Regions from separate parts of the Homo sapiens genome. Here regions 1 and 2 are each linked to region 3. Evidence: promoter capture Hi-C in 16 types of primary human blood cells and fetal thymus (Javierre and others, 2016). All regions are on one chromosome and are shown on one strand. Each heading gives the region's core, a stretch centred on a gene start or on the middle of the fragment in contact. The rest is flanking DNA. Distances are from core to core; before and after follow the strand shown.

The links. The method cuts DNA at HindIII sites, captures the fragments that hold promoters and counts their contacts. A CHiCAGO score of 5 or more calls a contact.
Region 1: a contact is called between a fragment that was not itself captured here and the fragment with the promoter of CDK13 in region 3, in 1 of 17 cell types (naive CD8 T cells). The highest score is 6.0, in naive CD8 T cells.
Region 2: a fragment that was not itself captured here is called in contact with the fragment with the promoter of CDK13 in region 3 in 1 of 17 cell types (naive CD4 T cells); the score reaches 5.2 in naive CD4 T cells.

What each region holds. Positions count from the first base shown.
Region 1 is chr7:38,369,406-38,373,005 of GRCh38, forward strand. All of the region lies in intron 3 of TRG-AS1 (T cell receptor gamma locus antisense RNA 1), which reads left to right. Among named protein-coding and RNA genes, the nearest start is that of TRG-AS1, 30 kb to the left of the region's middle. RefSeq lists an enhancer at 750-799. The HindIII fragment of the contact is 4,800 bases long and covers 1-3,600 here.
Region 2 is chr7:38,174,925-38,178,271 of GRCh38, forward strand. STARD3NL (STARD3 N-terminal like) reads left to right here and starts at 3,321. Exons shown (of 9, transcript NM_032016.4): 1 at 3,321-3,347. RefSeq lists enhancers at 21-1,220, 2,968-3,047 and a silencer at 3,298-3,347. The HindIII fragment of the contact is 1,146 bases long and covers 714-1,859 here.
Region 3 is chr7:39,948,196-39,951,505 of GRCh38, forward strand. CDK13 (cyclin dependent kinase 13) reads left to right here and starts at 2,061. Exons shown (of 14, transcript NM_003718.5): 1 at 2,061-3,310. The coding sequence starts at 2,447. It overlaps CDK13-DT (CDK13 divergent transcript), which reads right to left and starts at 1,224. Exons shown (of 1, transcript NR_158201.1): 1 at 1-1,224. RefSeq lists enhancers at 510-1,429, 929-1,058, 1,129-1,378, 1,430-2,348, 1,849-2,128 and 3 more and silencers at 1,619-1,848, 2,639-2,928, 2,999-3,058. The HindIII fragment of the contact is 3,453 bases long and covers 760-3,310 here.

The DNA.
Region 1 (3,600 bases), core at 280-2,779, 1.6 Mb before region 3:
CTTTCTATCACTATGTCCTTCCATCTCCGTCTTTATGTCCATATTTCTTTTTTCTCTGTCCCGTTTTTGTTCCTCCCTTTACATTTTTCCTTCTATAGCTCCCTCTTACAGCTCTCAGTCTCCTCTATTTTGCTTTAGTGCTCCTGTTTCTTACTCTGTTCATATCTTTATGTTTCTGTCTCTCTATCTGCCTATCTCTATTCATCTCTTTTTCTATTTCTCTATTTGTATCTCTCCTATCTATTTACTTTCTACCTCCTTCTCTCCTCCTCTCTTTCCATTTCTTCCTGTGGTCACTATAGCTCCTTTAAAGTCTTTGTTATTCCAACACCTGTGTCGTGTCAGGATTAGCATCTGTTGTTTGGCTTTTCCGTTTGGAGATGCTAAGATTTTCCTCGTCCTCCACATGCGGAGTAATTTCGGATTAAATCCTGTACACTTTGAATATCATGTTATAGAGCTCTGGGCATTGTTTAAATATTACACAGAATGTGGAGGGGGTTTTTTTGTTAGCAGGCAACTGACGCAGTTAGGGATTACAACTTCCTACTGGTGTTTGGTGGGCAGTTCCAGTCAGTTCCGTTTTCCAGCCTTTGCAGTACTTGTCTTGTCAGACCTGTCCTGTGTGTGCGCCACCCAGTGGCCATTCTAGGACCTGGGCAGTGCCTACTCCTGCTTCGGTTTGCAAGGCCTTTGGCTTTGGAGCTGTTTAGGGTCACGTTTATGCATGCACAGCTAGTGGGTGAGCCCAGGAGTCCAGACATCATTGCATGATGTTTCTTGCTTAATCTTCTTTCTCTCTGCAAGCTCTGCAATACTTTCTAGTTCACAGGAAATGCCCCTCCAGTCGTCTGGCCAGACAGGTGTGGCTTTAGCACACTGCATTTCCCACCATTGTGTCTCCCTCCAGGGCCAAGTGGTGAGAGGATAGAGAACAAAAACCACCAGGATTCTCTCTCAGGGCCACAGCTTCCCTGGTCAGAGAGAAGGATCCCTTTCCTAAGAGCTTTAGGCTCCTGGCTCACCATAGCTGCTGCCACTGCCACTCAGATTGCCTGGGGGCTGCGAGAGAATGGAAAAGGACAAAAAACAGAAAACCAGGGCTCTCTGACCACAGAGAGTCCCCCTTTCTCTCTGTCCTCACCTGGTGTACAGTTCTGCATTTCAGATTATCTTTGTACATATACTCTGATTATCTGAGTACAGGCCAGGGGATAATTGAGGAAAAATAAATAAGAAACTTACTGGGAATTCATAGTGCTTCACTTTCCGATTTCCTTCTCCAGTTGACTTGCTATCATTTATTTTTCAAAGTCCTCAGATTCAGGGTTCATAGTTGCATTTGTGAGCCAGACAAGGCAGTGTGGGCTCACTGCAAATTTTCCAGAAGTGGAACTCATTCTTGATAAGTCAAAGCTCCTTCGATTAAGAGGCGCCGTTTATGCCCCCCGCCTTTTTTTTTTTTTAAATACAAGAAGAACTCATAGGGCTCCAGTTCTGAATTGAGGCTTCAAGTGGCCTGATGTGCTTCTGCTAGCTCTTTGCTTTCTGTCATTGTCATTAGAACAAATCCAGGCTAGCCTGTTGGAGGATGAAACCCTGTGTGTAGTGGAGCTGATTTATTCAGACCCAGGCACTTTGACCAGGCAGTCCCCCTCCCAGCTAACCCAGCAGCTGCCTGACATGTGGCCAAGCCCAGCCAAGATCAGATGAGCTTGGTTTAGATCAGCAGAACAGTCTAGCAAACCTACGCATTTGTAAGAATTTGTAGATGATTATTGTGCTAAGCCACTGAGTTTGGGATATTTGCTACATGGCGTTATTGTGGCAATAGTATGGATAGACAGACAGACAGATAGAATATATGAAGAGAAAAGGAAAGCTAGAAATACATATAATTTTTTTTTTTTGAGACGGAATCTCGCTCTGTCGCCCAGGCTGGAGTGCAGTGACGCGATCTTGGCTCACTGCAAGCTCCACCTCCCTGGTTCATGCCATTCTCCTACCTCAGCCTCCCGAGTAGCAGGGATTACAGGTGCCCGCCACCACACCCGGCTAATTTTTTGTATAGAAATATATATAATATTTTATATATAACATATTATACATGTATAAATACATTTATGTATATTTTTACAATATATAAATATGCATATTTCTTTGTTTTTTCTCTTTATATATATTTTTCTATCTCAATATTTACCATTATTTCTGTATATTTATCTCTATCTTCCTAACACTGCCGCACTCTGTGTGTCCACGTGTATGCTTCTGTCTCCACAGGTCTATCGTTCTCTCTCTCTCCCTATCTCTCCCCCTAACTCCAGTTCTCTCTTCTTGTATCTTTCCCTATTTCTCTGTCTCTCTCCATCACTGTCCCTGTCCCTGTCGCTATATTTATATCACAGTTTCTCTCTCTTCTCTGTTGTTTTCTCTCTCTCCATCTTCCCTCCCTCTCTCGCTGTCTCTCTGTCCCTTTGTCTCTCACCCTCTCTCTGTGTTTTGTATTTCTTTCTCTGTTTTCTCTCTCTCTCCCCCGCCATGATAGAGAACTATACCTCTCCACGTGTCTCTGTCTCTTGCTCTTTTTGCTTGTATGGCCACTGTCCTAGTCATTTTCTTTCCTTCTCACTTCCACTCTGCTCTCTGTCCCTCTTCAACTTTCTACTTTCTGTTGCCGTCACTGTCTCTATATCATGCCCTCTCCCTCTTCATATGAACACTCTGTCCCCTCTTGTGTCTCTCCTTTTGTCTCTATCAAGTCCTCCTTGCCAGTCTTCTGGGGTCCTGAGGGTGTGATCTGCTCACTATGGTGGGAGAGAGGTGCAAACTCACAGATGTAAATGTTCTTCTGCTTCTCCTCGTAATTGTACCTTTACATATCAAGAGGTCAGCATTATGATGATGATGATAGAAGAATTGTTTAAAAAAATAGCACTGCCTTGGGGAGAAAGTTCTAGTGCGCAGACAATTGCTTGTATTTCTATTTCAGTCTGCTGTGAGATGTTCCCTAGCAACACTATGGGAAACAATCTGCTTACCATGAATTATTAGAATTTCCTCACCTCTAAATGGTTGTCTGGGCTCTCTGTATCACTTTGTGACCGCAGTGACGCAGGTCAATAGTGTTTTCAATGAGCTTAAGGGGGCACACACCTCAGTATCAAGAGCACACAGCACAAGGCCTGGAACGTAGTAGGCATTTAATGTGTATCAATGAGGCTGGGCACGGTGGCTCATGCCTGTAATCCCGGCACTGTGGGAGGCCGAGGCAGGCAGATCAGTTAAGCCCAGGAGTTCCAGACCAGCCTGAGCAACATGGTGAAACCCAGTCTCCACAAAAAATACAAAAATTTAGCTGCACGTGATGGCACACGCCTGTAGTCCCAACTACTTGGGAGGCTGAGGTGGGAGGATCCCTTGAGTCTGGGAGGTCAAGTCTGTAGTGAGCTGTGATCGTGCCACCGCACTCCAGCCTGGGCAACAGAGTGAGACCCTGTATCAAATATATGTATATTTGGATGGGATAAATGATCAGGTGTGTAGTTTAGAAGGCTATTATAAGGGTGTCAATAAGGCTGAATTATATAACATATATTC
Region 2 (3,347 bases), core at 37-2,536, 1.8 Mb before region 3:
TTGCTCATTTTCCTGTTATTTCTTTCTGCTCCTAAGACTGGATAATTTCAGTTTTCCTATCTTAAAGTTTACTGATTCATCCTTCAACATGCGAAAATGTTTCTTGAAATTCTCAAGTGAAGTTTTCACTTCACTTATTTGTACTTGCAAGCCCAAGATTTTCTATTTGGTTCCTTTTGATAATTTCTATCTTTTTATTGATATTTTCCTTTTGTTTATACATCATTACCCTAGTTTCCTTCAGGTTTTATGTTCTTGGTTTTGTGTCTAGAATTGGTGAGTTTCTTGGTCTCGCTGACTTCATGAATAAAGCTGCGGACCCTCACGGTGAGTGTTACAGTTCTTAAAGATGGTGTGTCCAGAGTTTGTTCCTTCTGGAGGGTTCATGGTCTTGCTGACTTCAGGAGTGAAGCCACAGATCTTCACAGTAAGTGTTACAGCTCTTTAAGGTGGCATATCCAGAGTTGTTTGTTTCTCCCGGTGGGTTCGTGGTCTCGCTGACTTCAGGAGTGAAGCTGCAGACCTTCGCAGTGAGTGTTACAACTCTTAAAGCAGCGCATCTGGAGTTGTTCATTCCTCCTGTTGGGTTCGTGGTCTCCCCGGCTTCAGGAGTGAAGCTGCAGACATTTGCGGTGAGTATTACAACTCATAAAGGTAATGCGGACCCAAAGAGTGAGCAGCAGCAAGATCTATTGCAAAGAGCGAAAGAACAAAGCTTCCACAGTGTGGAAGTCGAGGTGGGTTGCTGCTACTGGCTCGGGTGGCCTGCTTCTATTCCCTTATTTGGCCACACTCACATCCTGCTGATTGGTCCATTTTACAGAGCGCTGATTGGTCCATTTACAGAGTGCTGATTGGTCCGTTTTTACAGAGTGCTGACTGGTGCGTTTACAAACCTTTAGCCAGACACAGAGTGCTGATTGGTGCATCTACAATCCTTTAGCTTGACAGAAAAGTTCTCCAAGTCCCCACCCGATTAGCCAGACACAGAGTGCTAATTGGTGCATTTACAAACCTTTAGCTAGACACAGAGTGCTGATTGGTGTGTTTACAATCCTTTAGCTAGACAGAAAAGTTCTCCAAGTCCCCACCCAACCTAGAAGCCCAGCCGGCTTCATCTCTCAGTTTCCTTTAGTTCTTTGAGCATATGTAAGACAGTTGACTTAAATCATTATCTAATAAGTCCACTATCTGGGCTTCCTTAGGAATGGTTTCCATCAATTTCTTTGAGACTTCAGAGGCTACACATGAGTGAATGCAATTAAATCCACAATGTGATGCCTCTACATATTCACCAGAATGTATAACATTTAAAAAGGAAAAGAAAAAGGAAGAACACAAAACACAAATGAGTATAGTAAGTGTTGGCAAAGATGCAGAGTAACTGAAATTTTCATTCACGACTAGGGCATGTATAAATTAGTAAAACCTAAAAACTATTTGGCAGTGTCTATTAATGTTGAATATATTGAATATATACCCTGTGCATAGTAACACTACTTCCAGGGATCTTCCAAAATCAAATGTGTAACTATGTGCATCATAAGACAGGTACAAGAATATTCATAGCAGCGTCATTTGTAATTACCCCAAACTTTAAATAATCTAATGTCAAACAACAGTAGAATAGGCAAGTAAATTTTAGAATTATATACAAAAATGAAAATGAAACTATTATATTCTTGAATATGGATCAATCTTACAAATATAGTATTAAGCAAAAAGAGCCACATAAGAGTGCGTATTATGTATGACTATTTATAAACATTCAGAAGCAGGCAAAACTAATTGGGTGGTAGGATTCAGAATTGTGCCTATCTGTGTGTAGGGGTATAATGACTAAGACTGAGCATGAGGAAAGCTTCTAAATTGCTGGTAAACATTTAAAATTTTGCTGTGAGGCGGTGGTTACACAAGTTTGTTCACACTGTCACTAAGACAAGCACTTATGATTATTACACTTATTTTGTATATGTGTTATGCTTTAAAAGGTTTTCACATCTATCAGTTTATAAAATTTTTTTAAATTGTATTTTATCAGTATTGGCGAGGATACAGGGAAAAATTGCTCAAATACTAGCAGTGGGAATGTAAGTTAAAACAACTACTCAGGGGAGCAAATCAGTGAAATCTATTAAGGATTTACATCGTGCAAACTCTGTGATCCAGTACATTCTCTTGTTGGTATCTGCACTCTAGAGAAATACTTGGACCTAAGTACAAAAAGGCATCTACATATATATTTATGGTACCATTGCTTCTCATAATAATATTAATAAACAAACGTGAGGGTGGGGGAATGGTACATTAATTATGTATGTATATATATACACATATTGGTTCTGAGGACATGCAGCATTTTCAGAGAATGAGGTAGATTTATATACAGATATGGAAAGATTTCAATGCTAAGTGTAAAAAAGTAACATCTACACTTGCAAATGCACAGGAACTAGGAGTCATCATCTACAGACTGGGTTTGTAATTAGGGCCTAAAAGGGATATAAGCATAATTGTAACGTTTAAGCTTTTTTTTTTTTTCGCATGGACAAAATCTTACTTGTGTAATTTAAAATTAATAACGGTACTTAGAATGACTTTGGAAAAATATACAAATAATGAAATGGGGATCCAAAGAATGTTCACTGTATACCTCTGTACTTCTAAAAATGTGAATAAGTGTAGCATCCGTTGGGAGAAAAGTTTAATTAAATTTTAAATAAAACAATAAAAGGTGCCTAACTTCGTGTGAAAACAGACATATAGATATAATTAAATGTGACTACCGCTTAGAGATGTTAGTTATGAACTAGGAGCGCTGAGAAAAGGTATCCTAAATAGGTCTGGGGGAAGTGAGAGTTAGAAGAGGTGACTCTTGAGCTGAGTACCGACATAGAAATGGTATGCCCTGTTTTTATTCCTGGAGGGCTCAGCATGAGGTGCCCAAGAGGCCCTGAAACCCATTTCCATGACATTTTCCCACGAGCTGGAGCATAAACCCCCACCGAATAACTGAAGGGAAGCGGAAGGCGCAGAAACGCGGACGAAGAGGAAGCGGGCGCTTGTTAAACCGTGCGATGCACAATGCGGGAAAGTCCAACCAGCTCCGTGTTTCAAAGCTGGATGCCCAGATTTCCCACCCATTCCTACAGGCAGACCGGCTCGCCCTCTCCCTCCTTCCCGCGTCGTTTACTGGTCAGTAGAAGATTGACATGTCATCTGGCCAATAGGTTGGCTCCTCTATGGAGGCACTCAGGAACCAGTCGGGTCTTTGGTCCCTCGAGCGAGATGCGAGCTGTGTGCGTCGACGTCAGCGTGCTGACGTCACGGGCCGGAGGTCCCGGGGC
Region 3 (3,310 bases), core at 811-3,310:
GACTTTAAGATTACCTATTCCTTTGCCTCCTCCTTTATCCTTCAGCAAACCAACATCCTTTGTACTCGGTCAGTGAAGTCTGATCTTAGCTTAAATCAGGCCAGTCTGTGATACTGTGATGTCAAACTGATTAAAATAATTTACACTAAGGTATTAACGATGGATAGATACCAAGTGTTTAAGAACTAAACCAACTGATGATCTGAACAAATGAATTTTCAAAGGGGTTACTACATTTAGTCATTGAACAGACGGCTTAGCTTTTTCTTTTATTAGAGGCAGGGCCTCGCCCTGCTGATTGGCCAGGCTGGGGTGCTGTGGCACGGTCATGGCTCACTCCAGCCTCGAACTCTTGAGCTCCAGAGATCCTCCTGCCTCAGCCTCCGGAGTAGCTGGGACTACAGGCGTGTGCCACTGCACAGGGTTAGCTTGCGTTTCCAACCATTCTAAAAGCCAATAAGCCATTTACATTTTAATCTAATTATCCCGAGTGCTTAGTCTGTAACTGAAGGGCAATTCTAAGGCAAGAAATGAGATGTGAGGTCACTATATGGCTATGTTTGGCAACCCCAAAGGTTTAGATATGAAGGTGAAAGTGGGTGAAGTACTAAGAGGGCAGTCCTCATTCGCACAAGATGTTTTTATTTCAAGCCTCCTGAGAATTTGGAATTTTCAGTAGTTCCTTTTAACATTCCACTTATTTCCTGTATTGATTTAAAGCTTTAAAAATTTTTATTTTAAAGTAAATAGTGTTACCGAAGCTTGAGCTGTGATTCCCAAGTGTGTTTTTTAGGATAAGAAGGGGCCTCGCGGAAGTTGCGGTGAGCCGAGATCGCACCATTGCACTCCAGCCTGGGCAACGAGAGCGAAACTCAGTCTCAAAAAAAAAAAAAAAAAAAATGGGGCCTCGAACTTTGGCGTACGTGAGACAAGTTAAACCAACGCCATCTCCACCCTGTTTTGCGGGGTGTTTTCTCTCCTTTCGCAGCTGTTCCACTCCCAGGGCTTGACTGAAGGTACACGGGGGGTAACTGCCTACTCCAGAAGGCCACCAACAGCATTATTTCCCTCGCAGTCTCCAGAAACACTTGTTCTCACTGTGACCTTTCGCTCAACAGGCAGGCAGTGCGGCGTCTGCAGAGCCGGAACCGGCACTGCGCGCTGGACGCAAGCAACAAGCACGACAGGCGCGCCACCACGGGCAGAGTCTCAAGCAACAGCAGTGGGCGGCACACGAATCCTCTCCTTTCTTTAACCCTTCTTCACACGGAGTCCCACCCTCGCCGGAAGCCGAGCGGTTTCTACATCATGCCACTTCCGGTGCGGCCTGCCGGCCCCTGGCGGGAGCGAGCACGCCAGTGCGCGGTAACTTTGTTCCCGCCTCTCTTGCCCCGGCCACCTCTCATCTTCGGCTTTCTCTGAGCGTGAATTGCGGGCGCGCTCCCGGTCGTACGTCAGGGCTGAGGGGAAAAGCCGAAAGAGCGAGGCGAGAAGGAGGGGTTGTGGAGGTTAGGGCCCAACCAGCAAGTCCCGTTGCTCTCCCTCCTCCTGACGAGGAGCGGAGAGGGAAGGGGAGGAGCGAGCCGGGGCAGGCCGCGCACACCAGGAGCCTCCTCGTGGAGGGGGGGAGCGGAGGAAAGGGGTAGCTCCGCCACCTCTGCTGGCGGCGGCGGCGGCGGCGAAAGAAGAAGAAAGTCAGGGCCCGTACCTACCGCCACAGACTCAGAAACGCCCCTGCCCCCATCTCCCCGGAAATAGCCCCCCGCCCAGCCCCGCACAGTCGCTGCCCCAACCGAGAGCCGCAGCCCGGTCGCCCCCGCCTCGCCCCGCCCCGCTGCCCAGCCCCGCGGGCCGCAGAGTGCGCGAGGCCCTAGGCCGGGAGTTGTTGTCAGGCCCAGGCCACTTCCGAGGCGCCTGCGGTGTGTCGCCGCCACCACAGGAGGACGACGTCGACGCCGAGGAGGAGGCGGTGGAGGCGTGTTGTTGTCTCGCCCACTCCCCTCCCCTGAACTTGCACCCAACGTCAGGGCGCGATGGAGTGAAGCGGCGACGAAGGTGGTACTTCCGCGTTGCGCTGCCCGAGCCGAGAGCGCGGCCAAGGCCGCTCCCCCACCCCCGGGGGCACTTGGAGGACTCGGGACTCCCCCGCAGGTCAGCGCCCGGCGCATCTGGTGTTTTCGCTGCCGAGGATAGGACGACGAGCGCAATCGGGAGCTCCGCCGCCCGGATTCCTGCTTCCCTGGGGCCCGGAGGCTGCTGCGTACCCCACTGTGACCTGGAACCCAGGGACCCGAGTCCCGACCCGGATTATCGTGGCGCTTTTCCCGGCCGGCTCTGGTGCTCGGTGTCCCTCCGCCGCCGCTCCCGTTTCCGGCGGGGGAGATGGCCAGGATCTGACCCGGGAGGAGGCCGCACCCGCGCCGCGCTCTGCGGCTGGCTCTAGGCGATGCCGAGCAGCTCGGACACGGCGCTGGGGGGAGGCGGGGGCCTGAGCTGGGCGGAGAAGAAGTTGGAGGAACGCCGCAAGCGGAGGCGATTCCTGTCCCCTCAGCAGCCGCCGCTGCTGTTGCCGCTCCTGCAGCCGCAGCTCCTGCAACCGCCGCCGCCCCCGCCGCCTCTGCTCTTCCTGGCTGCTCCCGGCACGGCCGCCGCCGCAGCCGCCGCCGCCGCGGCCTCCTCCTCTTGCTTCAGCCCGGGCCCCCCTCTGGAGGTCAAGCGGCTGGCGAGAGGCAAGAGGCGCGCAGGAGGGCGGCAGAAGCGGCGTCGCGGGCCCCGCGCCGGGCAGGAGGCGGAGAAGCGTCGGGTCTTCTCGCTGCCCCAGCCGCAGCAGGACGGCGGTGGCGGTGCTAGTAGCGGCGGGGGTGTGACCCCGCTGGTGGAATACGAGGATGTGAGCTCCCAGTCCGAGCAGGGGCTGCTGCTGGGGGGGGCCAGCGCGGCAACGGCGGCGACGGCTGCCGGGGGAACGGGGGGCAGCGGCGGGAGTCCGGCCTCCTCCTCCGGCACCCAGCGGCGCGGGGAGGGGTCGGAGCGCAGGCCCCGCCGGGACCGCCGCAGCAGCAGTGGCCGCAGCAAGGAGCGCCACCGCGAGCACCGGCGGCGGGATGGGCAGCGCGGTGGCAGCGAGGCCTCCAAGTCCCGCAGCCGCCACAGCCACAGCGGCGAGGAACGGGCCGAGGTCGCCAAGAGCGGCAGCAGCAGCAGCAGCGGCGGCCGCCGGAAAAGCGCTTCGGCCACATCCAGCAGCAGTAGCAGCCGCAAGGACCGGGACTCGAAGGCCCACCGCAGCCGGACTAAGTCGTCCAAGGAG